Regions from separate parts of the Homo sapiens genome. Here all the other regions are linked to region 3. Evidence: promoter capture Hi-C in 16 types of primary human blood cells and fetal thymus (Javierre and others, 2016). All regions are on one chromosome and are shown on one strand. Each heading gives the region's core, a stretch centred on a gene start or on the middle of the fragment in contact. The rest is flanking DNA. Distances are from core to core; before and after follow the strand shown. Region 1 has its middle 28 kb from the start of SLC4A3. Region 2 overlaps LOC105373883 (a long non-coding RNA gene). Region 3 holds the start of ASIC4 (acid sensing ion channel subunit family member 4).

The links. Contacts are between HindIII fragments. The CHiCAGO score rates a contact against its expected background, and 5 or more counts as called.
Region 1: a contact is called between a fragment that was not itself captured here and the fragment with the promoter of ASIC4 in region 3, in 1 of 17 cell types (M0 macrophages). The highest score is 5.1, in M0 macrophages.
Region 2: a fragment that was not itself captured here is called in contact with the fragment with the promoter of ASIC4 in region 3 in 1 of 17 cell types (neutrophils); the score reaches 6.1 in neutrophils.

The regions. Positions count from the first base shown.
Region 1 is chr2:219,654,559-219,657,541 of GRCh38, reverse strand. No RefSeq gene overlaps it. Among named protein-coding and RNA genes, the nearest start is that of SLC4A3, 28 kb to the right of the region's middle. The HindIII fragment of the contact is 1,550 bases long and covers 640-2,189 here.
Region 2 is chr2:219,361,593-219,364,686 of GRCh38, reverse strand. LOC105373883 (a long non-coding RNA gene) reads left to right here. Exons shown (of 2, transcript XR_923917.3): 2 at 1,879-2,185. Among named protein-coding and RNA genes, the nearest start is that of DNPEP, 25 kb to the left of the region's middle. RefSeq lists an enhancer at 2,075-2,124. The HindIII fragment of the contact is 1,677 bases long and covers 512-2,188 here.
Region 3 is chr2:219,512,834-219,515,811 of GRCh38, reverse strand. ASIC4 (acid sensing ion channel subunit family member 4) reads right to left here and starts at 1,330. Exons shown (of 10, transcript NM_018674.6): 1 at 506-1,330. The coding sequence starts at 1,087. The region is part of intron 1 of ASIC4-AS1 (ASIC4 antisense RNA 1); the gene reads left to right. RefSeq lists a silencer at 1,232-1,407 and an enhancer at 2,692-2,978. The HindIII fragment of the contact is 12,103 bases long and covers 1-2,978 here.

The sequences.
Region 1 (2,983 bases), core at 165-2,664, 140 kb before region 3:
AACTTAAAAGCAGTCCCGGTAAAAGTTTAACAACCATCTACGAAAAAAAGGAGGGGAGGACCTAATTTGTAGTGTCTGCTGATTTCTCTGGTGTAAATACTCCCACAATGGCCAATTTCAAACTATTAGTGTGACATCACTGAATGCAGAATTGGGAAGAAATGTGCCATAGCACATCACTATAGAATATTTCCACCATACAGATATAACAGACATAAATAACTTCCAGAATATAGACAATAGTAAAAGTAACAAAATAATTGGGAAGTCATGAATTTTGAGTGTTTAGTACCTTTATTTTTAATATAATGTATTTACCTGTGTTTGAATATAATGTATTTATTTTTTAATTATACATTTTATTTTAAGATTAGTGTCACAACCAAAATATTGACATGGACGGGGCAAAATTAGAGAACATTTCAATCACAATAATGGTCCCCCAAGTTGCCTTTTTGTAGCTGTCCCCTCCCTAACCTCTGGAAACCACTAACCCGTTCTCTATTTCTGCAACACTGTCACTGTAAGAATATTGTATAAATGGAATCATACATTGTGTAGCCTTTTGAGAATGGCTTTTTCAACTCAGTGCTATTCTCTGGAGATACACAGTTTACTGTGTTGTGTGCGTCAAAAGCTTATTCTTTATCACTGCACCATTCACCATTCACCCATTAAAGGACATCTGCATTGTCTCAGTTTTTGGCTATTGCAAATAAAACTGCTATAAACATTTGTTTAGTTTATTGTGTGAATATAAGTCTTCCTTTCTTTGTGATAAATGCCCAAGAGTGCAATTGCTGAGTCATATGGTAGTTGTATGTTTAGGTTTTTAAGAAACTGCCAAACTGTTTTCCAGAGTGGTTGTCCCATTTTACCTTTCCACTGGTAATGTATGAGTAATCCAGTTTCTCCACATCCTGGCCAGCATTTGATGATATCACTATTTTTCATGTTTCTCTGTCTCTCTCTGTCTCTCTCTCTTTCTCTCTCTCACATCCTGATAGGTGTATGGTGATACCTCATTATGGTTTTAATTTGCATTTCCCTAATAGCTAATAAGATTGAACACCTTCTCATGTGCTTATTTGCCATCTGCATATTCTCTTCAGTAAAATTTTTCTTCATGTCTTTTGCCCATTTTTTAAGTGGATGGTTTGGTTTTTTGATGTTGAGATTGAGGAATTTTTTTTTTTTTTTTTTTTTTTTTTTTTTTTTTTTTTTTTTTTTGAGACAGACTCTTGCTCTGTTACCCAGGCTGGAGTGCAGTGGCATGATCTTGGCTCACTGCAACCTCTGCCTCCCGGATTCAAACGATTCTCCTGCCTCAGCCTCCCGAGTAGCTAGGATTACAGGCACATGCCACCACACCTGGCTAATTTTTGTATTTTTAGTAGAGATGGGGTTTCACTGTGTGAGTCAGGATGATCTCGATCTCCTGACCACGTGATCCACCCGCCTCAGCCTCCCAAAGTGCTGGGATTACAGGCATGAGCCACCATGCCTGGCCCTGAGGAATTCTTTATATAGTCAAGACACTAGTCCTTTATTAGATATGTGGTTTGCAAATATTTTCTCCCACTCTGTACTTTGTTTTTTCATCCTCTTAACAAGGTCTTTTGCAGCATAAAATTTTAAAATTTTAGTGAAGTCTATTTAATCAATTTTTTCTTTCCTTTTATGCTTTTGTTGTCAAGTCAAAGAACTCTTTGCCTAACCCTAAACCCAAAGATGTTCTCCTGTTTTCTTCTAAAAATGTTTATAGTTTCAAGTTTTACATTTAATTCTATGATCTATTTTGAGTTAATTATTGCATAAGGTATGAGATTTATATCAGAGTTTTGTTTGTTTGTGTTTGCCAATGGATGTCCTTTTGCTCCATCACCATTTGTTGAAAAGGGTATTTTTTCTTCAATGAATTACTTTTGCACCTTTTGTCAAAAATTGGTTGGGTATATTTATGTTGGTCTATTTCTAGGTTTTTAAATTCTGTTCTATCAGTCTTTGCAACTATCCCTCCACCAATACCACACAGTCTTGATTACTGTAACTATATAATAAGTCTTAAAATCAGGTAAACTGATTCATCCCACTTTATTCTCCTTTTACAAAATTATTTTAGCTATTCTGGTTTCTATGCCTTTCCATATAAATTCTAAAATAATTTTGTCTATATCTACAAAAAAGCTTTGCTTAGATTTCAATAAAAATTGCATTAAACCTATATATATTAGTTTAGGACAAATTGACAACTTTACAATGCTGAATCTTCCAATCCAGGAACGTAGTATGTCTCTCCATTTATTTAGATCTTCATTGATTTCTTTCATCAACCTTGAGTAGTTAATATAGTTTGGATATTTGTCCTCTTCAAATCTCATGTCACCTCAACGTTAGAGGTGGGGATTAGTGGGAGGTGTTTGGGTCCTGGGGGTGGATACCTCAAGAATGGGTTGGTGCCATCCTCATGGTAATGAGTGAGTTCTCACTTTATTAGTTACCACAAGATCTGGTTTTTAAACAGTGTGGCACCTCCCCACCCCCTTGCTTTCTCTATCACCTTATGACACGCCTGCTCCTCCCTTCCCTTCCACTATGATTGTAAGGTTCCTGAGGGCTTCACCAGAAGCAGATGCTGGCACATGCTTGTTGCACAGCCTGCAGCATCATGAGCCAAACAAACCTCTTTTCTTTATAAATTATCCAGTTTCAGGTATTTCTTTATAGCAACACAAAATAGACTAATACAGAAGTTTTCAGCATGTAGATTCTGTAAATTTTTATTAGATTTATAAAAAAGTATTTCACTTTTGAGTGGGCTGCATATGGTATTGTACTGTTAATTTTGGTATACATGTGTTTACTGCTAATATATAGAAATGCAATGGATTTTTGTATATTTATCTTGTATCCTATGATTCTTGTTGAACTAAATCACTTGTTCCAAAAGTTTTTTTGTTTTGTTTTCATTTTTATAGATGTC
Region 2 (3,094 bases), core at 101-2,600, 150 kb after region 3:
AGACCAAGTCTCAGTATGTTGTCCAAGCTGGTTTCAAACTCCTGGGCGCAAGTAATGCTCCTGTCTCAGCCTCCCAAAGCACTGGGATTAGGGGTGTGAGCCACTGCGCCCAGCCTGCCAACAATCTTAAAACTAATTTTATTTACCCAAAAGACTTAACAAGGCCCATGTGTTCAGATTCCTGTCTGTGTCCCCATCTTTGGAGGAAGGACACCTTTCACATGGGGAAAGGATCAGGGAGATCCCTTCAGGAGAGAAGGATCAGGGAAGTCAGAGAGATTGTCCTGCACATGCTGTTTCTCAGATCCTTCCAGCTTAAAATATTCAACATGCCAGTGTGCCATGTTTCTGGGTGGCATGTCCTGAACCCTCTTATTGGATAGTATAAATGGCTATTCACTCTGAAAATCTGTTGAGCTGTATCTTTACATTCTGTCTACTTCTGTTCATATGTATTACCTTTCATAATCAAAAGGTAAAAATACTTTTTTTAAAAAAAAGCATAAAAGCTTCTAAACACAAAAGTTGGTGTCAGAAATATTCTAAATGGAAAGAGGAAAAGAGTGGCTCCTAAGATGACTGGATTATTAGAAGTAAAGAAATGCCCTCCCTTCTTGCCCAATAAACTCCAGAAGCTCCCAGAGTGGCCCTAGGCGAGAAGAGATGAGAGGGAGGGTCAGCCGTGCTCTCCAGGGAAATCCCCTTGTTTTCCCCAGGCCAGCCCCAAAGGGGCACTAGTCTACACTGAACTCTCAACTTCCAGGCAATAGAGACCACCCTTTCTCTGCTGCTTTATTTGACAGCTTAGGAAAGACTGAAATGTTCAAACAAAAATGAACAACAACAGAAAGCCTTGACAAAGGAAAGCCAGATGCAGAGGACCATGGATCCACATATCCTAAATGCAAGGGAGAGCCTGCTCTCCAGGCTCCAGAGCCTTCCACTCATGGGCTACCCCAGGAATAATAGGGACTCCTCCCTGAGTCTCCCCACTCCTGACTCCAGGCTTTCCTCCCACAGCAGGTGACATTCCTAAGTTTGTATGCATGTGCCAGCACACATTTATATATACAAGTGCAATATGTACATAGTAATGCACACACATATTCTCAAACCTACACACATACACCTCACACACATACATAAACGTAACATATATACACCTACACACACATAAACAGACACATGCGGACTTACACATGGACATCTATACAGAAACACACACATGTAAGCATACATGCACACACACAACACAGGTGCACATGCACATACAATGTTTGCAAACATATACAGCCACAGGCATAGACACACATATACACCTGGATACATATACAAACCCATCACACATGCATACATATGCTCATTCACATACTACAAATACATACAAAAAGGCATACACATATATGCACACATGCACAACATACAAACACAGAGACATGCATGTAGGCATAATACATGCATGCATACTCGTGCGCAAAAAACACACATGTGCAATACACAGATACATATACATAAATGCATGCATACACATATGCAGACAATACATAGATACATGTCACACAAACATATTGCTATATATCCATATATACATATGCAAAAACATACACATATATACACAAACACACACATCTTTATGTACACACCCACAAACACACACCCCACATACCCACACGCACATACTGCATGTGATAGCCATCCTACAAGATGACCTCCAGTGATCCTTACCTCTTGGAATTCATGCCTTTGTGTAGTCCCTCCCACAGTGTATCAGGGTTGGTCTCTGTGGCCAGTATAATATGGCAGAAATGATGGCATGGGACTTCCAAAGCTAGGTTTTAAAAACACTGTGGCTTTTGCCTGGTTCTCTCTCTCTCTCAGGTCACTCACTCCAGAGGAAGCCAGCTGCTGTGTCATGAGGCACTCAAGCAGCCATATGGAGAGGCTGATGTGGTAGGGAACTGAGACCTCCTGCCAACAGCCAGCATCGTCTTGCCAGGAGGGTGAGTCATCTTGAAAGTGGATCCTCTAGCCCCACGCAAGCCTTCAGAAGACTACAGCCAACCCTGAGTAACATCTTCACTGCAACTTCAAGAGAGACCCTGAACCAAAAATACCCAGCTAAGCCTCTCTCAGATTCCCAGTCCACAGAAACTGTGAAATAGATGTTTATAGTTTAAGCGACTAAGCTTTGGGGTAATTTGTCATGTAGCAATAAGCCATAGATATTCTTTGCTAAAACTGGATTTTTAAAAAAAGTAATAGACAATGAATACAAGTACACTACATGTACACATATACACATTGACACACACATCCCATCTACATACACAAATACATCTCCCACACATACAAACCTACATACGCACACACAAACACACATGCATACAGTACACATTGATTCATACAAACACATGCACACACATATAAACACATGGACACAACACCCATGCACAAACATATAAACACATGTATACACATATAAACACATGTACGCATGCGCAAGTCCCGAGAACCCACTTCTAGAGTCTTTGGGCTCTTCACCATCTAGATGCCCACCTGGGGCTCCCCATAGAGCTCTGACCCATCTCGGAGGAGCTGCCTCTTCTCTCTCTTTTTTTTTTTTTTTTTGAGATGGAGTTTTGCTCTGTCACCCAGGCTGGAATGCAGTGGCACAATCTCTGCTCACTGCAACCTCTGCCTCCCGGGTTCAAGCAATTCTTCTGCCTCAGCCTCCAGAGTAGCTGGGACTACAGGCACATGCCACCATGGCCAGCTAATTTTTGTACTTTTAGTAGAGACGGGGTTTCACCATGTTGGCCAGGCTGGTCTTGAACTCCTGACCTTGTGATCTACCCGCCTCGGCCTCCCAAAGTGCTGGGATTACAGGCGTGAGCCACCGTGCCTGGCCTGAGGAGCTGCCTCTTCTCTAGGAGATTCCCACCAGAGGTGATCCTGTCCTTGAGGGAAGACCTTGTTTCCCGACAAAGGGTGGTGGCCTGAGTCTTGCAGGCCTCAGTGCAATGATAGCACCATCCCCACTGGCTATCCAAGAAGAGGCACAGGCATGGTGGCCCACCCTCTCCCTATCAAGGTG
Region 3 (2,978 bases), core at 81-2,580:
CAGCCTGCCCACCAGGCCAGCTCCCCAGGAGGCCACCCGGGGTCCTTCCCTAGATGGAGCCCCCCAAACCTCCCCTCCCTATCTCCTTCGTTTGGTGGGAAGAATCCAGTAGCCTCAGAAGAAAAAGGGAGCAAGAGAAAAGTGAGAGTCAGTTGGTCTGGCCTTGGGATGGTGCGTGCGTTCCCTGCAAGCCAGCCAGCTCCAGGACACCTGGGCCCATGCCTAGGAACCCCCACCCCAACTCCCAGACCTGGGCACTGCAGCAGCAGCAAAACCAAGAAGAGGAGCAGCAGGCGCCCCAGGGTAAGCCCCTATGAGCGGCCACTGCTCCATGGCTGGGAAGCCAGAGGGAGACGCCAGGCTTGGGGAAACACGAGGCCAGCCTCTGGTGGTGGAATGAAGGGAAGCCCTGTTGAGGATGCCCCTGTACACCACTGCCACCACTCCTCCCCACTCCCCAGCCTCCGGCCATCCAAGGCCAGGCAGCCCAGCTGGCAGAACTCACCACAGAGAAGTTGCTGGCGGAGCAGTGATGCCCACTGAAGTTGCAGCTCTTAAGCATGTCGGCGAGCTGGTGGCCAGTGCGGTTGAGGATGTCTACCATGTCAGGCTCTGGGTAGCGCAGGCCAGCCGCACGGTGCCCATCCCGGTCTTTGGGGGGCAGCCCTGTCAGATTGGCCAGGTGGAAGATGTCGGCATCGCTGAGTGCCGAATGCCGGAAGCGGTTGATATTGCAGAGGGTGACAGCCGGGAAGCCCGCCACTGGGGCTGGGGCAGCGGGGTCCATTGCCACCAGGTGAGGCCGGGTCAGGTAGCCCCGGGCCAGGCCAGCCGCCTGGTACAGGAAGGCAGCCAGCGAGGTGAGTAGGGCCAGTGCCCACAGGGTTCTGCGCAGTCCGTGGGGGCCTGGGCCACAGGCCCGGCCCAGTCCATGCAGGGTGCTGGTGCTGGCAAAGGTGGCCAGGTCTCGGGGGGCTGCTCCAGGGGCAACAGCCCCGAGGAGGCTCTGCTCATCCCCTGCCTCCTTCTCCTTGGGTTTCGCATCCTCCTCAGCAAATTTGATTTTGCACACAATCTCGATCGGCATCTGTCCCCGGCTGCTGGGACTGGCCAGAGCCTCCCTGCCCTGTCCCTCCCTAGCCAGCAGCCCTGGTGCCCTCCCGAGTGGCAGTGGTGGCAGCGGCTGCTCTTCTAAACTCAGGGCAAGCGGGAAGAGGACAGGGACAGGGTGGGGGCCCGAGGTGGGGGAGTCACTCCCACTCCCAGCAGCTCCGCAGCCCTGGTGCTGCCTCTGCCGCTGCTGCCTCTGCTGCCGCTTGTCTCTCTCCTCGATCGTCTCCTTGTGGCTTCCCTTATCAGCACCAGCACAGCTGTCAGCCCCTGCGTGTGTCCCTGCGAGCGAGCGAGTGAGCGAGGGAGCGAGCGCTGCTCCGCCACGCCGCGCAGCCCCAGCCGCTCCGCTCAGCATGTGCTCCGGAGCCCTCCCCACGCTTAATAATTCAGGACATGTCAACAGCGTTTCACCGGCAGCACGGGCGTCAGGAGCCAGGCCAGGGGAGGGGGCAGTCCCCAGCCCAGGACAGAGATCCCAAGACTGGGGCTATCCCCCAAACTCCTGCTGCACCCTAGCCGCTCACTGGGTCCCCAGATCTCCCCACTTCCTGGCCACCCAGGGAAGGGTGCCGTGCCCAGGGTCCTCAGCTCATTCTTTGCCACTTTCCTGGCCCACACCCCATGAAGGGTCAGCCAACTCTATCCCCCCACCTCCTGGCCTCTGAGACTCCTGACTCCAGCACCCAGCCACCACCTGATCCCACTACCCGACTCACAGCAGCTTCCAGAAACTCCTTGAGAGAGCCACTTGTTTGAATGACGGAGGGAGGGGGGCAGAGGAGGGCAGGCTAGACAGACCAGGGGACAACTGTGACTTCAAGATTCTCAGCTTCCCTGGAGCTTTGCTCCAGACTTCAACACCCACCATGCCCCTGCCCCCTCTGGGAGGCTGGCTGCCCTCACCCTCATTTTGCCCCCAACCCCAATCTCAGTCATTCATATGTCTGGGACAGACAGCACCCTGGCCAGCTTGCATATCTGTGGCCACTTTGCTTCCCCAAATGTTCCCCAAATCCCTTGCCACAACCAGGCTTCGGGGGAGGGCTGTTGGGTAAGCAAGCCAGGGAGCAAAGGGGAGGTGTGCTTCCGGGGTGCTCTATATGTAGGGGGACAGGGCATGCAATGGAGGGAGAGGAAGAGCCCCAGTGGGGGCGTGGAAGGGAGCAGGAAGATGTGCTGGGCGTCAATGGGAGCGAATGCTCTCCTAAAGAAAGGGGTTTGAGGGGTGCCTGGCAGAGTGGGGCAGGAGAGCCCTAAGGGGTCTGCTGTGTTCTCGTGGAGGGGAACAGGCATGTGGGCCATCATCATAGGTGGGGGTGGGAGCCTCAGTTGACTGGCCAGGAGGGGATGCATCCATGCCCCCAGGGTGGGGGTGGCAAGAATCAGTGCTTGTGCTCTGGGGCCCCATCCGACAGCATGTGCCCTCACGGGGGAGGAAGCCCTTGTCCCCGGGAGGAAAGGGGGGCTGATTAATCGGGGCGCTAATGAGCAGCAGGGAGAGGAAGCGTGGACGGGCGGGGGGAGGTGGCTCCATCGATCCAAGCCGCAGAACCAGCAGCTGAGAAAAAAAGTGAGAAAGGAATCGATCTGAGGGAAACGGCAGCTGCTGGGGATTAGAGCCCGAGGTCCACCCGCTGCCCAACGGCCACCCCGCCCCCTGCGTCAGGCCTGGCCCCGCAGCCTCTGCCTGGCCCCAGGGGAGGGGCCTAGGGATGGCTCCCTTAGCAGCTGGAAGCCACTTTGCCCACCCTGGCTGCAAGGCCAGGTCAGGCCCCATCAGGGTCACCCCAGCATGGAGCCTGCCCACACACCCAGCCCTGACCATGCGTGGTGCCCTGCTTAGGTTGTCCCTAGCCTTTAGGCAA